Linked DNA regions of Homo sapiens: all the other regions are linked to region 2. Evidence: promoter capture Hi-C in human tissues and cell types (Jung and others, 2019). All regions are on one chromosome and are shown on one strand. The core of a region is centred on a gene start or on the middle of the fragment in contact, and the rest is flanking DNA. Distances in the headings are between cores, read along the strand shown. Region 1 overlaps FOXL1 (forkhead box L1). Region 2 holds the start of MAP1LC3B (microtubule associated protein 1 light chain 3 beta). Region 3 overlaps MTHFSD (methenyltetrahydrofolate synthetase domain containing).

What was found. The method cuts DNA at HindIII sites, captures the fragments that hold promoters and counts their contacts. A contact is called where the count stands out against the background at its distance.
Region 1: a fragment that was not itself captured here is called in contact with the fragment with the promoter of MAP1LC3B in region 2 in 1 of the 25 tissues and cell types used here (dorsolateral prefrontal cortex).
Region 3: a contact is called between a fragment that was not itself captured here and the fragment with the promoter of MAP1LC3B in region 2, in 2 of the 25 tissues and cell types used here (liver and lymphoblastoid cells).

The regions. Positions count from the first base shown.
Region 1 is chr16:86,580,084-86,583,250 of GRCh38, reverse strand. FOXL1 (forkhead box L1) reads right to left here. Exons shown (of 1, transcript NM_005250.3): 1 at 1-3,167. Among named protein-coding and RNA genes, the nearest start is that of FOXL1, 3.1 kb to the right of the region's middle. The HindIII fragment of the contact is 3,027 bases long and covers 1-2,837 here.
Region 2 is chr16:87,390,631-87,393,750 of GRCh38, reverse strand. It overlaps MAP1LC3B (microtubule associated protein 1 light chain 3 beta), which reads right to left and starts at 1,415. Exons shown (of 4, transcript NM_022818.5): 1 at 1,284-1,415. The coding sequence starts at 1,323. It also overlaps a transcript of FBXO31 not described here. RefSeq lists enhancers at 233-282, 1,499-2,457 and silencers at 903-1,032, 1,143-1,312, 1,333-1,982. The HindIII fragment of the contact is 8,903 bases long and covers 1-3,120 here.
Region 3 is chr16:86,545,131-86,548,584 of GRCh38, reverse strand. MTHFSD (methenyltetrahydrofolate synthetase domain containing) reads left to right here. Exons shown (of 8, transcript NM_001159377.2): 4 at 8-121; 5 at 1,936-2,026. Among named protein-coding and RNA genes, the nearest start is that of MTHFSD, 8.4 kb to the left of the region's middle. The HindIII fragment of the contact is 8,046 bases long and covers 1-3,454 here.

The DNA of each region.
Region 1 (3,167 bases), core at 75-2,574, 810 kb after region 2:
TCTGGGCAGGCTGGCTCTGGCTTTCAGCTGTAACAATAATTATATGTGGCTAATTCTTTAACATACACACGGGCATACACTCACCACTTTGAGTGAAATGGTGAAGACCACCATTCAAACGGGCACAATTAAATCTGAAAATGGCTAAGAAGGTCCTATTCAGGTTCTCAAAACTCTTATGGTTCACTGGAGGCCCAGGAGGCCGTTTGTTTCTAGAAAAGCCAGCAACTAGATGAGGCCAGGCAGAGCAAGAGTCCTTTGTAAAGTTCTCTGTCCTTGTGAACGGAGGGAAAAGTTCTCAAAGCGGGTGTCTTCCGCGATGTTTAAATAAAATCTGTCAGTTTCACTATACTAACACAGAACAATAAAGTTATCCCTGGTTCATACTACATAGAGAAACAAAACTATTAAAGCTATATAGAAATTATTATCTATTTTTAAAAACTATATAGAAAAACAAAATCTTTCAAATAGTATCAATACTTGGGTTAAAGTGAAAGGACTCAGTACTTGATCTGAGTCTCAGGTATATTCAAAAAAGATACATTTATGAGCATTCATGTACACAGAACAAATACACACACACACCCCTACACATTCATGTATATATATGTATATACATATATATAAACGTGTACATATGTATACACACTTTGTTATCAAACATGTGCCTGCCATATCCTCATTATGATCAGTGCACTCATATGTGTGTGGGTATTTGTTTGTGTGTGTGTGTAATCAGGGCTTGAACCAAAGATCATTTACAGAAGACAGATCTGTTCCCTTTGTTTAGATGAGAGCAGAGAGGTATTCCTTCAGATTGCCTAAGAGTACAATGATAAGCTTGCTTCTGGCTCACCCTAATTATAGCTGAGATTTTGTTTTAATTAAGAGCAGAAACTATTGACCTTATTGAGCCATAATTTTGAGCCAACGATTAAATATGGATCAATAGAACAGCTATTCGGATTGGTAAGACCCAAACCTCCTCTTTTTGGTTCAGGAGGAAGGAATACACATGCAATTATATAGATTACATAAAAACGACCTCAGTATCCACTTGTCTTAGCTTTTCTAAACCAGACAAAAGTTGGGATTAAATAGAATTTCTCTTTATGCATGTATAAACACACAAAGTGGATACATCTGCATTTTTTCTGTGTCATAAAAGTAACATTCGTACAATACTTTTTGGAATAGTAACTTTAAAATACGACCCTTTTAAAACTGCAGTATCAAATTATTTGCTTCTTCAAAACATAGCCATCACAAATTAACAAAACCTCCCAAGATAACATACAAACACAAAAAAGAAAAAGGAAAGATTAAAAACCGATTCAATACGGCAGAATTAACTCATCGTGCTTTCTGATATGGAGGCAGCTTCCTGGGCCCGGCATCCTCTCCACTCCTTCCCCTCCATCTGTGTGTTTACCCCTCAGAAGCCAGAGCCTCCTGAGATGCTAACACGACTCCCAGATATAATCCCAGTCTCCTCTTTCTTATTACACTGTTTGTTTATTTCCCTCCAGTAATCCACTGAACCAGTCACTGAGAGGTTAATGAAAAAACAACTTTATTCACAGAGGCTGAGAGTTTGGGATAGCAAAATATCCAGTGACAGCCCTTTCGCTACATTTTCAGTGAATCACAGTGAGCCTGGATCTCAGCAATGGCTCCTCCTGGAAGTTCTTCCAATCAAGGCTGGCCTGAAGTTTCCCAGAGTCTTCCCACTGGCCTGGGTAGAACCCAGTCGTGGAAGCCTGGTTCAGCATGGATAGGAGAATGAATTTTCCAAAAGTCACCTCTATGCCTGTGAATTATCCAATTACTCTGCCGGCCTGAAATGTCCTTTCCAACACATTGACCAACAGGCCCTCTGGATTCAAAGTTTGTCATCATTTTTAGACAAGTCCTGGAAACTATTTTAAAAGCGATCTTAAAGACCTCCCTCCCAACCTATTTCCAATAGTGCGTGACTACTTGTGTCTTTATCACATGACATAAAATAAAAGTGACTTAGAGGTTCAGAAAATTGCATTTCAGGGCCTCGAAGATTACCCAGCTAGAGATGGCATAGAGGTCGGTTGCATTTCCCCGGAAGCTGCAAGCTGAACTTGGTTGTGAACATCTCAATGTTCTTAATTAGATTTTCGTTGCAGACCTCTTCTCCCCTCCCCAGACTGCCAGTCACCTCTTTAAGGTTTTGATTTAGTATCAGCCTCCAGGCCTGCCTGGCAGGGCTGGGAGGGAAGAGCGGGCGGCTGCAGGGGGTGCGGGGGCCAGGAGTGTCTGGGAGATTCCTGCCATCAAACCTCAGGTCCTCTGGGGCCCAGAGAGGCCCCTTCCAGCGGACACCAGCACGTCCCCTTATTCTTCCCCCGCATTCATCCCTCTCTCTCTCTGCATCTGCTTTTGGTTGTTTCACCCAACTTTTTAAATTAAATGTAGTCTTTCATTATCTGTTTCTGAAAAATATAGCGACCACCAAGCCTGGATCTTGAAAAAACATGGAAATCAAAACTCTGACATTGTCCAAGGCATATCCCCTTCCCCTCACACCCTTCCTCATGGTATCCCTTGAAATATTTTGATCCCTTAAAAACAAAAGCAAAAGGATAGGACGTCTGCTGTTGTGGCTTACATAGCTGCATGTGTATTGGCTAATGAGCTATCGTAATGCAAGAAGATGTTATATAGAGTGCACTTTCTTAATAAAAATTGTTAATACAAGCGTTTTCAAAGGTCAATGCTTAGAGTCAAGTATTTATGCAAAGAATGAAACATGTTCTTTTTACTACCCAGAAAGAAATTAAGAGAAAAAGTCTCTGTTTAAAATAAAAGTGTTATTGCTCTGGGTGGTTATCAGCTTCTATAGCTGAACATTGGTCATAAATCCTCATCGGGCCCTACATCTCTCAGAAAACCTGAAAACCCGGGGTCACCCCCGGCACCTCCACAACTTCAAGTCAGGAACAAACCCAGCTGTGACCACCCACCACCCAGATGGGCTCAAAACCAAGGCCTGAGCCACACGGCAACAGCGAAGCAGGCGACGGTCATACGGGGGTCCCCGGTCGAAAGGACCTCAACTGCACCTGTAAGGCCTGCCTTGGGTGGTCTGCGGGCCCTTGCATGCCCGGGACTCGCAGGACCTGCGGTGGGCG
Region 2 (3,120 bases), core at 166-2,665:
AAAGAAAAGAAAATCTGTCTTTAATGCTGCTCTCAGGGCTCAATAAGCCTAGACACTACAGTAAAGAGTTCATTAAGGTGACTAACAAGAAAACTACTAACAAAAAAGGCACGTGTAAGTCTTGCTAACCAACGGACTGCCTCAAGAGGCTGTCTGAAAAGATATGCTTGGCAAGCTAAGGTCCATTTTAATTTGCTTAAGTTTCTCAGGCATAAGAAAAAAAATAATGGTCAATGAGACCTGCAAAACTATATCCAAACTCAAATGAATGCTAAACTCTTTCTAGACTCCGGGAAACTAGGCAAAAGCAGACAAACAGCACCACTGTGTGGGCTCCTGACGAGGATGGCGGCAGGCATTCGCAGTCCACCGCGATGAACACGGTGCTTCCCTTCCAAACCGGTGTCTGGAACTTAGGCAACAACAGATACCTGGATCTGCGGCGTTCTCTTGCTCAAGCGGGAAATAATCACTTCGCATCATCTGCGTGGAGTAAATATTGTGATGGTGACACCTGCACGTTTAACCAAATGCCAGCACACCTAAGCTGGGTTTCCAGTCTGAACCGGCAGAAAAGGGATGTATTCGGTATTCCTGGTGCCAAGGTGAGAACGTAATCGCAAACCCAAGAGAAGTCTCCCACCCCAGCTCCTGGGCTACAGACAGGAACTGGCAACACCGCTGTGGGCCGTCCCGGGCGCGGCGAGGCCGGGGCCCAGCACATTCCCCTCCTCTCGACCGAGGCACTGAGGTCTGTAAGAGGCACTCGCACCCGGGCGGGCTCCCTCGACGGGAAAACCAGCCCTGAAGGTGACGCGCTGGGTCCCGGCGCAGCCCCGCTTCAGAGCCGAACGGCCCAGCGCGGCCCCGGGGGCTGTTGGGCCCCAGAAGCGCGACCCTCGCCCGCAGCGCGCTTGCGGGGGCGGCGGTGGCCGGGGTACGGCAGGCACCCCGCCGCGGAGGGCGCGGGGTGATTCAGCAGGCCCGGGGCCCCGAGCGCACCGGCCCCCGCCCGCCCTCCGCCGGCTGCCTCCTCCCAGGCCTCCGAGAGGTCCGCAGGCCGCCCCGGCCCAGACCAGCCCCTGGCCCTCCCGGCTCGGTCCCGGCCTGGGTCCCTCACGGGGCCCCGGGCCCCGCATCCCTCGGCCCCGCCGGCCGGCAGCCACCGGCCCCGCTCGGCCTCCCGGCTCGGCCCCGACCCCTCACGGCGTCCCAGGCCCTGCCGCCCTCCACAGCTCGGACCCCGGCCCCGCCGCACCCGCCGCCCTCGCGGCGACACTCACCGAAGGTGCGGCGCTGCTTGAAGGTCTTCTCCGACGGCATGGTGCAGGGATCTGGGCGGCGGCGGCGGCGACGACGCGAGGGTCCCGGCGGCTCCCGGGGGCGGCGGCTGCTGCGGCGGCGAATCCGACTCTGGCGATAGCCACTTCCCTTGTATCTCCTCAGCCCGCAGCCTGGTCAGGTGACTCGCGACGCGTCACCGAGGGGCGGGGCCAGAGCCGGCCGGGGCCGCCGCCATGACGGGCGTGGCGGAACCCAGCAGCGGCACGCAGCGTGGGGGCGGAGCAGGTGTGTGCGCGTGCGCGATGGGCGAAACGCGCGCTCTGCGCATGCTCCCGGTCGTGCCCCAGCCCCGCCCAGCACCGCTGGGCGCCTGAGGCCCCTGAGGTGACGGTTGTGGGCTGGGCCGCACCCCGGGTCTGTGGGCGCTCGGGAGCCTGCTGCCCGGCCCTGAGGAGATGGCAGCGCGGGGCGGGGGAGGCTGAGCCACAGGCGGGGTGTCCCGGGGCACTCTTGAGGGAGGGGTCAGAGGAAGGGACATGGGGCAAATCCGACCATCCTTTCCCCTCCAGAGAGACTTGGTGGTGCTGCCCGAGACGCCGGCACCCGGGGCTGAGGCGCGCAGGGCAGGCCGCGCCGTCTCCGGGAGGCAGGGTCGCCGCTCGCCCGTGGAGCCCTGGCCCCCTCTGCGTGCAGGGGCGCGCGTGGTCCGTGGGTGGCTTCCGGGGAGTGGCCGCTGGTGACCTCCGCCCGCGGTCACTCGACGCCCAGCCTTGGCGCGTTTGCGCAACTGCTTTTGTCCCGAGCCTTCATTCTGGGCGCAGTCCCCTCTCCCAGTCCCCCTGCCGCGGCGCCTGGAACTCTCCTGGTGGCTGTAAGATTTTCCTACCGTTAGGTCGTCTGTGGCGACTGCCAGGCCTGCCCCACATCGCTAGCCGCCCTGTCTACCCCTCAGCCTCCCAGCCACTAAACTCGCTGGACAACCTTACGCTAGTGACAGTTTTTGAGTCTCAGACTCATCTGTGAAAGGGCAGTCATATTTGAGGACTCCAAATGGGCTGCAGTGCGTAAACCACCATGCGATATTTGGTTGCTATTGCCCACCTCAGCCTGTGGCCAATGTGTCTCTGTAGGAACAGCACTAGATTCTTTGGGGTTTTTTTGAGACAGGGTCTTGCTCTGTTGCCCAGCCTGGAATGCAGTGGCACGATCATAGCTCGCGGCGGCCTCGGTCGCCTGGGCTCAAGGGATCCTCCTGCCTCAGCCTCCCGAGAAGCTGGGAGTAGAGCCGGGATCTCGCTGTGTTGCCCGGGCTGGTCTTGAACTCCTGGCCTCAAGCAACCCTCCCGCCTCGGCCTCCTTAAGAGTTGGGATTACAGGCGTGAGCCACTGCTCCCGGCTATTTGGCTGTTTTTGTTCTTTAACATCTAATACTTTGAAAGAGCCCCATAGTTCCAGGATTTCTCCTTTTGACTTTGTAAAAGCCTTTCTTCTATCCCAATTGGATAAAGTAATTGGATTAGGCTAATACACTCTACACTGTAAGCTTGAATCATACAAAACATGAAAATAGCGGGGGGCGGTGGCTCCAAGCCTGTAAACCCAGCTCTCAGGGAGGCAGAGGCTGGGAGGATCGCTTGAGCCCAGGAGTTTGAGACCTGACTGGGCAACATAGCAAGACCCCGTCCTCCACAAAAAAGAAGAAAAAAAGTATGAAAATATATTTCTCGCGCCAGGTGCGGCGACTCATGCCTGTAATTCCAGCACTTTGGGAGGTCAAGGCAGGAGGATCACGAGGTCAAGAGTTCGAGACCAGCCTGGTCAACATGGCGAAACCCC
Region 3 (3,454 bases), core at 697-3,196, 850 kb after region 2:
TTAAAAGAGCAAAAAAACATTGTTGGTTCCAACACCACGACTGAGAACGGGATTGTTTAATAAGATCACACCACCCCCTGGGGCAACTAAAGACATCTTGAGAAAATGTGCCACCTCTCAGGTAAGTACCAGAAGCAATGTCCCCACCTAGGAAAGAACTGTACCCTGTGAAGGCTTCTGACGACTTAGCATAAGATAGCAGCACACAGTTGGAATTCATTTTTAACAGAGCCAAAAGAACAGAGATATTAAAGTATTCAAGAATTCTGTCCTTAATGGAGCCACGTGGGAAAACTGAGTAAACAGATTCTATTTCTGTAACTCAGTTTCTATTTTGCACGAAATTGGCAAATTATAAATTCCTTATTGTAAGAAAAGGGAAGACGGGTGATCTGGTTCTCTGGCACTGCCCGGTGTTAACCTGCGATGTTCAGTATTGTGGAGCTTTTTCTTATTCCCGGCCTGTTCATCAGGTGCCACCAGAGCGACTGGGGAGACAGGATAGAATTTCCAAAACATGCTCCATTGGAAATTGCCTCACCAGTTCTAAGTGAGTAATTGCTGATAATTACATATTTAAGATTTTCTTGAATGCCTCACAATTTAGTAAAACCAAGTGTACAAATATGACTTTAGGGTGCATTATAATAAAATTGGTCATGTATTTTACAGTTAAGTCGAATTTGGTGACTTTTTTAAGAATCTTAAGGTAAACTCCAAGTCATTTAATTTTTAATCTACTGAGAAGAAAAAATAAGACAATTGAAGATACGCTTTTTTATGGGATTTGCCACTTAAGCCTAATGTATAAAACTGGAACGTTTCATTGTTTACTTATTAGCACCCTGCTTATTCCAAAAATAGAATTTGATATGGTTTCTAAAAATACATACAATAAAGTAAAAAATATATATATAGAGAGAGAAAGGAGCAAAGGAAAAAGAAAGATAGAAAACTGAGACGAAAGCATGGTGATGGTCAGCATTCACAAATGCAAGCCGTCTCTTCCTTTGCAGTTGGTCAGTGCCTGCCCCCGTGGACCCTGCGAGATGATGAGAACACAGGGTTTCCTGCAGTGCAGGGTTTCCTGGACTAAGCCCCCTTCTGTGACTGTCGGGAGACCCCCAAGCCACCCGTATGCACTGATCCATACGGAACTTGTCATAGCACTGCAGGCAGATCCCACCGCCACATCGAATGATCAGTTACTGCTGGATACGGGACTGAAAATGGCTTTTTCCTGAGTCTTACATAAACCGTGTTATGAGAACCATGAACATATTCAGCTTCCCTATTCTTTATATGCATGCCTGCATTAGTATAAAGCGGTACACTTTTGGGACATTTTGGTTGAAGGGATAATTTTTTAGAAGCGAGTATATTGTACATAAAGATAGTGGCCTTCAGGATTTTATATTGAATAAATATGTCATACAGTGTTTACTGACCATGTCTTATGTGCTAAATGCATACGTTTTGTTATTTAATTCCAACACTGGTCCGACGAGGCAGAGGGTGGTGTCCCTGTCTTACAGCTGAAGAAACTGAGGCTCAGAGAGCTCCAGCCTGCTGGGGACCTGTGGCTCAGAGGCTCTGAACCCAGTTCCCTGGGACTCTGCCCCTGTGTTTTCACCACTGTGCTCTTCTGCCTTATGGGGAAAAACGATTTGTTAAATGTTATGAAGTTGGCAGCCTATGAATTTGTGCTGTGAGTTCCTCTTGGCCGCCTTTCTGGGAAAGAGACTGGGGAAACTGTGCCCTAAAGCGGTTTCTGGAATGCGGCTTCTCCTGAAACGCCACATCTCCGGTGTTGCGTGTGCCTGCATCTGTTTTGTCCAAGAGGTTGATTCAAACCCTGAGTGCACTTTGATCATGAATTATAAAATGAGGAAGCAGCTGGAGTTGAAGTTTTCCAATCCGTATCTCTGTGTGCAGGGTGTGAGGAACTACAGTGTCCCCATAGGCTTGGACTCCAGAGTCCTCGTGGATTTAGTTGTGGTGGGATCCGTCGCCGTTTCTGAAAAAGGTAAGACTAGCAGATGGGAACCCTTGAGTGTGACAGCTCTGCCTGAAGGCGGCTGCGTGCCAGGCTGTTTGTCTTTCAAAAGTCGCCAGTGGTGTCTGCTTTCTGGATGCGCTTACCTGGTCTCCGAAGCCGCTGCATTTTTCAGAGGTGAAGAATTGGCTCAGCCCACCCGCTTCTGGCCCCAGCCCAACATGTGTACAGCATTTTCACTTTTCTTAGCAGGAAAAACAAAGTGAGATAACTCTCTGTTCAGGTGGTGAAAGGTTTTCTCTCTGTTCTTGAGTGAGCTGGAGCTTAATTTCTTTTCAGTATGTCAGTAAATAGTTGGTTTTGGAGGGACTCCAGCAAATGGAAAAACAGTAGGTTCCAAGCTTTGTTTTTATTATGAAGCAGCAGACTCTTGAACAACACGGTGTGTCCGAGACTCCTGAACAACGTGGTGTGTCCGAGACTCCTGAACAACGTGGTGTGTCCGAGACTTCTTCTCAGGCCTGGTGCTTTGCCACGCTGCATGTGAGGCAGGCTGCTCTCGGTCCACAAGGCCAGGGGGCCCTTGCTAAGAGGGCAGGGTCACCACACCACCTCTTGCTGTCTCCAGCTTCAGGGTGCCCTCTTTTCCCAGCCACCACTGGAGCTGATGTGGGGACATTGTTCTTTATTCTTTGCTTTCAGTGCATTCCCAGTTTCTGGTGCTTCGTCTGTGTCATCGGGGCTGGGGACTCAGGAGCGCACTGTTCTGGTATACCTGCTACACCTGCTGTGTGCCAGGCAGGCACTGGGTGGTCTTTAAGTGCATGGTGTGTGGGTGGGCCAGACACGAGAGCTGGACCAGGACAGGACGTGACGTGCTCAGTGCTGGACACAAGTCAGGACCGACGGGAGGGGGAAGGGGAGTCTGAGGAGGGACGTGCCAGCCTGGAGGGGGCATCTCCTCAGTAGCGGCCTCAGGGCTGGCTCCTGCATGCCGGCCACAGTCCAGGCAGAGGGGACTGAAGGGTCCTCAGGCAGCAGGCCCTTTACTAGGTTGCGGCCCCTTCTCAGCAGCCTTGAGGCCAGATGATGGGACTTGGGCTCTTGGTGGTGGGAAATCAGCAAAGGTCCCCTCTTGGAAAATATCATCAGGTTCAGGGATGTATAAAGAAGAAAGTAACACTTCGTAAGTTTCATCGTTTAGCTAACCCCCTGTGTAAAGTAGTAAAGTAACCATGTGTCTGCTTAGAAAATTGAACAGCACAGAAAGCTGCACCATAAGTCTTCCCTGTTCCTTCCCAGCTGCCCCATTAGGAGTTCCTAGTGTAGACGTTGTACATAGTAGCATGCGTGTGAGACACAGATATCTTTTTTTTTTAAGTTCCGGGATACATGTGTAGGATGTGCAGGTTTGTTACATAGGTAAACGTGTTCCATGGTGATTTGCTGCACCTACCA